Regions from separate parts of the Homo sapiens genome. Here region 2 is linked to region 1. Evidence: promoter capture Hi-C in 16 types of primary human blood cells and fetal thymus (Javierre and others, 2016). All regions are on one chromosome and are shown on one strand. The core of a region is centred on a gene start or on the middle of the fragment in contact, and the rest is flanking DNA. Distances in the headings are between cores, read along the strand shown.

The links. The method cuts DNA at HindIII sites, captures the fragments that hold promoters and counts their contacts. A CHiCAGO score of 5 or more calls a contact.
Region 2: a contact is called between a fragment that was not itself captured here and the fragment with the promoter of ZNF282 in region 1, in 1 of 17 cell types (neutrophils). The highest score is 5.7, in neutrophils.

The regions. Positions count from the first base shown.
Region 1 is chr7:149,194,137-149,198,667 of GRCh38, reverse strand. ZNF282 (zinc finger protein 282) reads right to left here and starts at 3,122. Exons shown (of 8, transcript NM_003575.4): 1 at 2,914-3,122; 2 at 1-335. The coding sequence starts at 3,078. RefSeq lists an enhancer at 2,055-2,104 and silencers at 2,545-2,904, 3,025-3,346, 3,165-3,454. The HindIII fragment of the contact is 5,667 bases long and covers 2,148-4,531 here.
Region 2 is chr7:149,736,237-149,740,907 of GRCh38, reverse strand. LOC124901771 (a long non-coding RNA gene) reads left to right here. Exons shown (of 2, transcript XR_007060585.1): 2 at 896-1,034. Among named protein-coding and RNA genes, the nearest start is that of KRABD3, 24 kb to the right of the region's middle. The HindIII fragment of the contact is 9,706 bases long and covers 1-4,671 here.

The DNA of each region.
Region 1 (4,531 bases), core at 1,873-4,372:
CGCCTCTGCAGCAGCCCGTACTCCTGCAGCAGGGTCCCCAGCACGGCCCACTTGCTCTCCATGTGGTTCCCAAATTCCACGGCCGTCTTTTCACAGTCGGCCAGCTTCTTCTCGGCTGTCCCCGTGCGCCCCTCCAGGTTCAGCAGCTGGCTGGCCTGGGCATCCACCTTCCTCTCCACAGCCTGAATGGCAGCCACCACAGTCCAGAGTGAGATCTCTGCTGTGGGCAACTGGGGCTCTCGCATCATGCGGTCGGGGAAGACAGGTGCCCTATCTGGAAAGGGTGGGAACTGAAAAGGCATTGGCCGCCGGGCGTCCATGTCCCATTCTTGAGCCTGTATGCAGAGGGAGAAAGCGACAACCCAGGATGAGACCTTGTGTGAGCCGGGGAAGTCAGCTGGGAACAGGGGTCAACTAATCAGATGCTACATGTCGTCTTTCTTCTGCCAGGCCCCCGTAACTCAGGATACACTAACACCCCCAGCAACAGCTACCCACTCACCCACCCACCCAACTCAACACTCTCCCATCTCCTGCCTAGGTGAGTCAGGCTGGTCACTGGTTCACCCACATTGACCCTTAGCAAGTTAAGGCTGCAACCCCTGCCTAAAATGTCACAGGCCACTTTCTTTGAATAGACCAACTGATTTCTTCAAGGGCTAGCCTTAATGACGAACTTTGTATTTGCCTAGTGTTTTATGTTTCCAAGAACTTTGATGTAAGTTAGCTGACGCTAATCTTCCCAGCAATCTCTCAGCAGGTTAGGGCAAGAATGATGATCTCTGCCTTAAAGATGATGAAACTGAAGCACAGGGAGGCAGCTGGTCACTCCGCAGCGCCTCCCTGCACTGCCAGCTGGGGCAGCTCTAGATGCTGCAGGTAACAAAAAACACATTCCTGGCCAGGTGCAGTGGCTCACACCTTCCCAGCACTTTGGGAGGCCAAGGCAGGCAGCTCACTTGAGGTCAGGAGTTCAAGACCAGCCTGGCCAACATGGCGAAACCCTGTCTCTACTAAAAACACAAAAATTAGCCGGGTGTGGTGGTGGGCTCCTGTAATCCCAGCTACTTGGGAGGCTGAGGCAGGAGAATCGCTTGAACCTGGGAAGCGGAGGTTGCAGTGAGCCGAGATGGTGCCACTGCACTCCAGCCTGGGCAACAGAGCAAGACTCCGTCTCGGAACAAACAAATAAACAACAAAAAAACCCACCACATTCCTACCAGGGCTGCAGTCAAGGAAAAGACCGGAGAGCCCAAGCTAGGGCAGAAAAGCAGCTTCCCCCCATATACAACTACTGTTTCATAAACATTTTCCAAATTGAAAATAGGTTCACTAAAAAAGGTCACTCATTAGAGGTGAAGAGGGGATGTCCCTCACACCCAAGAGGACCAAGAGAAAGAAAAACTCCTCTGGGACCCCTCCTTGCTTCCTGGGGAAGGGGTGCCCCATGGCCTGGGGACTCCCCCTTTTATCTTCCAGCACAGAGCCCTCACCCCAGAAGGGTAAACTAATTGGTGCAATTGAGAGCTGAGACCTATGGCTAAGGGGGGCTGGTTGAGGCTGGTGACAGTTCACTGGTCATCTGGGACCTGGTGTCAGACTCAGGGCTCACTGGACCACATGGGCTGGCAGCCGACTCTCCTTCACACCTGGGACAGGAAGAGGTGTCATTTTCTGTCCTCCCGATGGCTGCAGAAAAGGCCCTCAGGCTAGGAAAAGGGGAGGCCTGCTGCTTGGGGCGATCTGGGCAGACCAGCCCCACTCTCTGACTCAAGAGCAGCCCTGCTCCGGGGCAGACCTGCTCCGGGACACAGCAGAGTGGAGAGCAGGGCCCTAGGATCGCCAGGCCCTGTAATACCAGTAAGAGGTGCTGGTGTTTCCATCAAAAGCACCCATTCCTCCATCACAGAGGCTCCACTCCGCCCTAGCCCACAGAAGGGGACAGAGTCCACAGTAGAAGTTAAGAAAGTCCCGGGGCCCAGTTTAGTTTTCTCGGGTTTGAAGCCCTAACCCTGAAAATGATCAAACACAACACAGCAGCCCCTGGCTCCCTCGTTAGCACCTGGCTGAGAGCCGCGTGGTGAGCAGAGGGGCCCCTGAGCAGCCCAGCCCCAGGGTGGGCCCAGAGAGTCTTCCCTGGGCAAGCTTTCAGGCCTCTCTGAGGATCCACCTCCCCTGGTTTTATACCCAATTCTGGAGCACCGGTTCTGCCCACGGAGATCATCGATGGAGCCTGAAGAAATGCCTGGTGCTACTCTCACCCGTCAGAGACCCTGAGCTCTGGGACCAGGCAAGGGCTCAGGAGTCTTAAAAGCTGCCCAGGCCATTCCAACATGCGGCCAAGTTTGTCAACCGCAGGAAAGACCCCGAAGTCATCTCTCCATGGCCCCCTCCCTGGATCACACCCGGTGCAGGGGGAGAGTGAATTACTCATTACACTTGGTGAAAGGTGGTAATCAAACATTTAAAAAATATCCCCGTCAAATTGGCCACCGTGTAAACACGAACGAGGCATTCACTTCTGCGGCCGGGCGGAAGCACTGCCCGCGAAGCTCTCCGCCGGCCGGGCGCAAAGGGAGCCCCAAGCCGGGGCTCAGCCACAGGGTCAGAGCTCTGCCAGGTCCCGGAAAGGACGGTCCCGGCCCCCGCCCCGCGGGGCCTCCGCACTTGGGCCCGGCGACCGCTGCTCCGCGCCGCGCGGGCCAGGCCTGCCCTTCCGGGCCTGCGTCGGGCCCGCTCCGTCCTGCCCGCCGCGCAGCCCGGCCGTGCCCCGCCCGCCTCGGGCCTCGCCTGGGCGCGGAAGCTGGGAGGGCGCCGCAAGGCTACCGGAGGACGGCGCGGCCCGGTCCCGCGGCCCAGCCCGCGCCCCGCCCCCACGGCAGCGCGGCCATGGCGCCGGCGGGGTTCTCCCACCTGCATGGGCGGCATTCCCTCGGCCATTTCCCCGCGCAGCGCCGGCTCCTGGTGGCAGACCTCCTCCGGGGGCAGAGCCTGGGCCCAGCTCCAGCTCCCGCTGTCCAGCCCCAGGCCCTGGATGCCCAGCTGCTGAGGCTGCGGCCGTGTTGACACAAACTGCATCCTGGGAGTGCTGTTCCCCGCTCGGGTCGGCCAGGGAGAAGAAGAACGTTTTCCAGGCGCCTTCCCCCTCTCCGGGGCCGGACAGCTCCATCTACAGCCCGTAGGAGCAAACAGTCCCCTTCGGCGGCGCTCCCCGCCCCTTGGCAGCCCGCGCGCCAGCCAATGGCCTCGGAGCTCCTGCCCGCCTGCGGGGACCTACCGGGGCCACTCCCGGACTGGGGTCGCCACCGCCCCAAAACTGAGAGGCGGCGGCCTCGCCCAGGGGTCAGGCCCCCTCAATCTGGGATGGCCGACTTTAAAGGCCCAAACTATGCGAGGACCTGGACTGTGGGCTTGATTACTGTTAATTCTGCAAATGTATTGGGCATCCCGGGAGAAAATAGTGCCTGACCCTTGTGAAAATTTTGCAGGAGTAATTCTGTCTTCAGACACTTTCTTCTGGCCTTCTGCCTTCCCTCACTCCTTTGCAGACTTTACCTCCCACTCCCCTTCTTCCCAATCCAGATTTACCTGGACCCATCCCAGAGCTTTTGCACTGTTATGGATGATAGAGAAGTGATTCATGTTAAGGTGTCAAAAGAGGGCTGAGCTCTTTCTCCCAGGTAAGGTGCAGTGCATTTTAACAGTGGCCTCTTCAAACACCTTGAAATTGGGTTGGGCGTGGTGCCTCACACCTGTAATCTCAGCACTCTGAGAGGCTGAAGCAGGAGAACGACTTGAGCCCAGGAGTTCGAGACCAGACTGAGCAACATATTGACACCCCATCCCTATAAAAAATAAAAATTAGCCGAGCGCGGTGGCTCACATCTGTAATCCCAGCACATTGGGAGGCTGAGGCAGGCGGATCACCTGAGGTCAGGAGTTCGAGACCAGCCTGGCCAACATGGTGAAACCCCGTCTCTACTAAAAATACAAAAAGATTAGCCGGGCGTGGTGGCGTGGGCCTATAATCCTAGCTACTCGGGAGGCTGAGGCAGGAGAATCGCTTCAACCTCCGAAGCGGAGGTTGCAGTGAGCCAAGATCGCGCCAGTGCGCTCCAGCCTGGGCAACAGAGCGAGACTCCATCTCAAAAAATAATAATAAGGCCGGGCGCCGTGGCTCACGCCTGTAATCCCAGCACTTTGGGAGGCCAAGACGGGCGGATCACGAGGTCAGGAGATCGAGACCATCCTGGCTAACACGGTGAAACCCCGTCTCTACTAAAAATACAAAAAAATTAGCCGGGTGTGGTGGCGGCGCCTGTAGTCCCAGCTACTCGGGAGGCTGAGGCAGGAGAATGGCGTGAACCCGGGAGGCGGAGCTTGCAGTGAGCCGAGATCGCGCCACTGCACTCTAGCCTGGGCAACAGAGCAAGACTCCGTCTCAAAAAAAAATAATAATAATAATAATAAAATAAAAAATAAAAATTACCCGGGCATGATGGCTAATGCCTGTACTCCTAGTTACTCAGGA
Region 2 (4,671 bases), core at 483-2,982, 540 kb before region 1:
AGTAGAGATGGGGTTTCACCATGTTGGCCAGGCTGCTCTCGATCCTGGCCTCAAGTGATCCACCCACCTCAGCCTTCCAAAGTGCTGAGATTACAGGTGTGACCCACCGCGCCCAGCCCACTCTCTGTCTTAAACCCAAAAAAGAGTGTTATTCAGAGATTCAATCCAGGTTTATTGAACCCCCACTATGTAGCTGATCCAGTGTTGATGCCAGATATACCATATGTATTTGCCTCATCCACAGAGCTTACAGTTGGGGGCTGGTGGGTGTGGGGGGCAGACATTCAACAAAGTAACACACAAATAGATGCTGCAGATTACTAATTTTTATAACAATCTATTTCTTCCTCCCTGATTTGCCTCAGACACTGACGAATCTAATGTGAAGGTCCAGAGTTCAGTGTGCCTCTCGCCCTGCATGTTTTGGGGCCTTCCTTAGCTCTGAAGCCAGAGAATCCCAGCTCAAACTCACCTAGCAACTGTGTAGCTTTGAGCAAGTTTCTTAATTTCTGTGCTTCAAGGAAATCACAAAAAGTGCTCAATAGTTCTCTCCACATAAATCTTTTTTAGATTGATTCCTGGGCTCTTGAGTTTTTTGTTACTACAAATAAAATCTTTAAAGTAATACTTTCTAACTGTTGGCTGTGGGTATATGTAAATATAACTTAGTTTTGGTATACTGGTTTTTAACACTTCAATATGTCACCATTAAGCATATTAGCTATTGATATGGTTTGGCTGTGTCCCCACCCAAATCTCATCTTGAATTGTAGCTCCCATAATCCCCACATTATGGAAGGGACTCAGTTGGAGGTAACTGAATCATGGGGGTGGGTTTTTCCCTTGCTTTTCTCATGATAGTGAATAAGTCTCATGAGATCTGATGGTTTTACAGAGGGCAGTTCCCCTACAGTCTCTTGCCTGCCACCATGTAAGACATGCCTTTGTTCCTTCTTCACCTTCCGCCATGATTGTGAGGCCTCCTCAGCCACGTGGAACTGTGAGTCCATTAAACCTCTTTTCTTTATAAATTACTCAGTCTTGGGTCTGTCTTTATTAGCACCATGAAAATAGGCTAATACAGCTATCATCTTTTTTTTGGTATATAATCCTCATCAAATTAAGAAATTTCCTTTCTCATCCCAGTTCACTTGGAATATTGATGGGTGCTGGCTCTTATCAAGTGATCTTTCTGCAGCTATTGAGATGATCATGTGACTTTTCCCCTTTAATCTATTATTGTGGGTTACCACTGGTGATTTTCAAACGTTGAAACCATTCTTGATCGACAAGATGAAGCCAACTGGGTAATGATGTTTTACTCAGTAAAACATTTTGTGTATTGCTAGATTCTCTTTGGCTAATATTTTGTTGAGTATTTTTCCTATGTACATTTTTTGAGATTAGCCTGTAATTTTGTTCTCTTGTACTGTCCTCAAGTTTTGGAAATTTCAAGATTATGCCAGTCTCGTAAAACGAGTCAGAGAGTGTCCCATATTTTTCCATTCTCTGGAATAGTTTGTATATTATTGAAATAATTTCCTTTTTAAATGTGAGATAGAACTTACTAGTGAGGCCTTTTGGGCCTACAGTTTCTTTTCTTTTTTCTTTTTTAGATGGAGTTTTCTCTTGTTGCCCAGGCTGGAGTGCAGGGACGTGATCTTGGCTCACTGCAACCTCCACCTCCCGGGTTCAAGTGGTTATCCTGCCTCAGCCTCCCAGGTAGCTGGGATTACAGGCGTACGCCACCACACCTGGCTAATTTTTTGTATTTTTTAGTAGAGACAGGGTTTCATCATGTTGCCCAGGACGGTCTTGAACTTCTGACCTCAGGCCATCTGCCTGCCTTGGCCTCCCAAAGTGCTGGGATTACAGGCCTGAGCCACAGTACCTGGCCCTACAGTTTCTTTTGTAAGATGTTTGATCACTAATGCATTTTTTTTTCAATGGTATGGGACTATTCAGGTTTTGTTTTGTTTTGTTTTTGAGTCTAAGTTGCATTCTTATGGGAGTTATTTTCATTGAATTTTCAAACTTTTGGCAAAAAGTTGCTTATAATATCATCTTATTGTCTTTCTATAGCCTGCGGCATCTGCAGTAATGTCACCTTTTTCATTCTGAGACTGGTTATTTGTGCTTTCTTTTTTCATTGATGATTTCATCACAGGCTAGTAGTCAATGTTATTAGCTTTGTAAAGAAATGATTTTTGGCTTTGTTGATTATATCATTTATATGTATGCTATTTCAGTAATTTCTGCTCTTATATTTGTGTGCCCTTTTTAACTTTTCTTTGGATTTCCTTTGCTGTTCTGTTTCTCCTTGTGAATTCTGTCCTTCCTTTTCCACATACTCACTTATGTCTATACATTTCTAAGTACTGATATTGCTTTATGCTACACATTTTGATATGGTTCCTTTCCTTTCCTCTCCTCTCCTTCCTTCCTTGTTTTCTTTTTTTTGAGACGGGGTTTCACTCTGTCACCCAGGCTGGAGTGCAGTGGCACGATCTCGGCTCACTGCAACCTCCACCTCCTAGGCTCAAGTGATTCTCCCACCTCAGCCTCCTGTGTAGCTGTGACTAAAGGCACATGCCACCACACCTGGCTAATTTTTGTCTGTGTGTGTGTGTGTGTGTGTGTTTGTGTGTATGTGTATGTATGTGTATATATATATATATATATATATATATATATATTTTTTTTTTTTTTTTTTTTAAGTAGAGATGGGGTTTTACCATGTTGCCCGGGCTAGTCTCGAACTCCTGGACTCAAGTGATCTGCCTGCCTCAGCCTCCCAAAGTTTTGGGACAACAGCCGTGAGCCACCACACCTGGCCTGTGGTACTTCCTTCATGGTGGGAAACATTTTTAATTTCCATTATGATTTCTTCATTGACACATGGGTTATTTTAGCAGCATAATTCTCATTTTTGAATATATAAGAATTTCTGGTTATTATTTAATTCTAGCTTAAAAGGTAAAAGTATTGTCAGAGAACATACCCTATATAATTTCAATATTTTAAATTTATTTACACTTACTGTAGGGCTTAATATATGGTCAATTTTTGTAAATGTCCTGTGTATGCTTGAAGAGAATGTATATTAAGCAGTCCCATGGCACACAGTTTTTGTTTGCTTGTTTGAGATGGAGTTTCACTCTTTACACAGGCTGCAGTGCAGTTGCATGATCTCAGCTCACTGCAACCTCTGCCTCCCGGGTTCAAGCGATTCTCGTGTCTCAGCCTCCCAAGTAGCTGGGATTACAGGTGCATGCTACCATGCCCAGCTAATTTTTGTATTTTTTGTAGAGACAGAGTTTCACTGTGTTGGCCAGGCTGGTCTGGAACTCCTGGCCTCAAGTGATCCATCCGCCTCGGCCTCCCAAAGTGCTGGGATTACATGTGTGAGCCACCGCACCCGGCCCCATGGTGTACTGTCCTATACGGGCCTCAATCAGGCCAATTTTGTTAAGGAGTTTGTTCGAATCTTCTACATCCCTCCCAATTTGTTCCATCATTTTCAGAGAAAGATATGCTAAAACCTCCCAAATATGATTGTGAATTTGGGTGTTTCTCCTTTTAGTTCTTTACATTTTGAGGCCAGCAGAGGAAAAAATGGATTTTTTTTTTAACCCACAACAGTGTTAATACAAAATAAGGCAGGGAAGAGAAGCCCCCTCGGAAGAGGTGGGACAAACAAAAAGCACAAAGTAAGAAAGTCTGTTAAAGCCTCAATAAATCAGTCAGTCAATTACATTTAAATGGATTAAGGGCTCCCAGTTGACGAGCAAAATCTGTCAAGATGGTTTATGAGATAAAATCCATAGGTTGTGCATAGGAGCCACATCCAAAACACAAACCCGCACAAAGGTTAACAGCATGCCTGCTGCTCTTGACCAAGCACCTTCAGCGGGGAGCAGTGAATCGTGGTTCTTGCACCCCGCAGGCCAGCCTCCCTTCCATCAGGACCCCTGGGGGTGGCCAGAAAATAATAGGGGCACGAGGAGCCCATTCATTCATATTTTGAAGCGGAACCTTCACATGTTCCTGCCTGCTGGGGGACTCTGGCTGGCAGACTGGGAAGGTCGCACTCAGATCAGCCAGGACCCGTTCGGCTCACCCAGGATGGAATGAGCAGCCTGGAGCCTTCTCTGCCCCCAATTCCAAACCCTGGAGCTCCTTTGAGTTCAAAAAGGTCCTTCAGTTTCTCCCATCAAAGGGACCACATTTCCTCTTCCAAGCCACACTGCACAGTTCTTAAAGGAGATGGGCACAGTGCCAAAGACCTAAACTGCATCTAGATTTTCCACTAGATCAATTCTAGAAGGCGTTTCAGTGACTGTGGACAGGTCCTGGAGACCTAGACCTAGGGAACTGCTTCTGCAGGAGGAACGCAGCTGCAGACCATGGAACTTCTTACCACTTATTACTTAGAATCCACATTCTTAAAACAACTTTAAACTTATTATATGGTCCAACTGGGTCTGGACCACCTAGACCAGGCTCAGTCCTGAATACCCTGGTCTGTCCCAGCAGGCAAAGGCTGGGAGGGGGCATCTGTGCCCAGGGTGAGGATGCGCCGAGTGCTGGCGGCACTGGTGAGGGCTCGAGCTCTCTTCCTAGCTCTGCTGGTTGAAGGCTGCCTAACTGTGACAGTCACTTACAGCCACC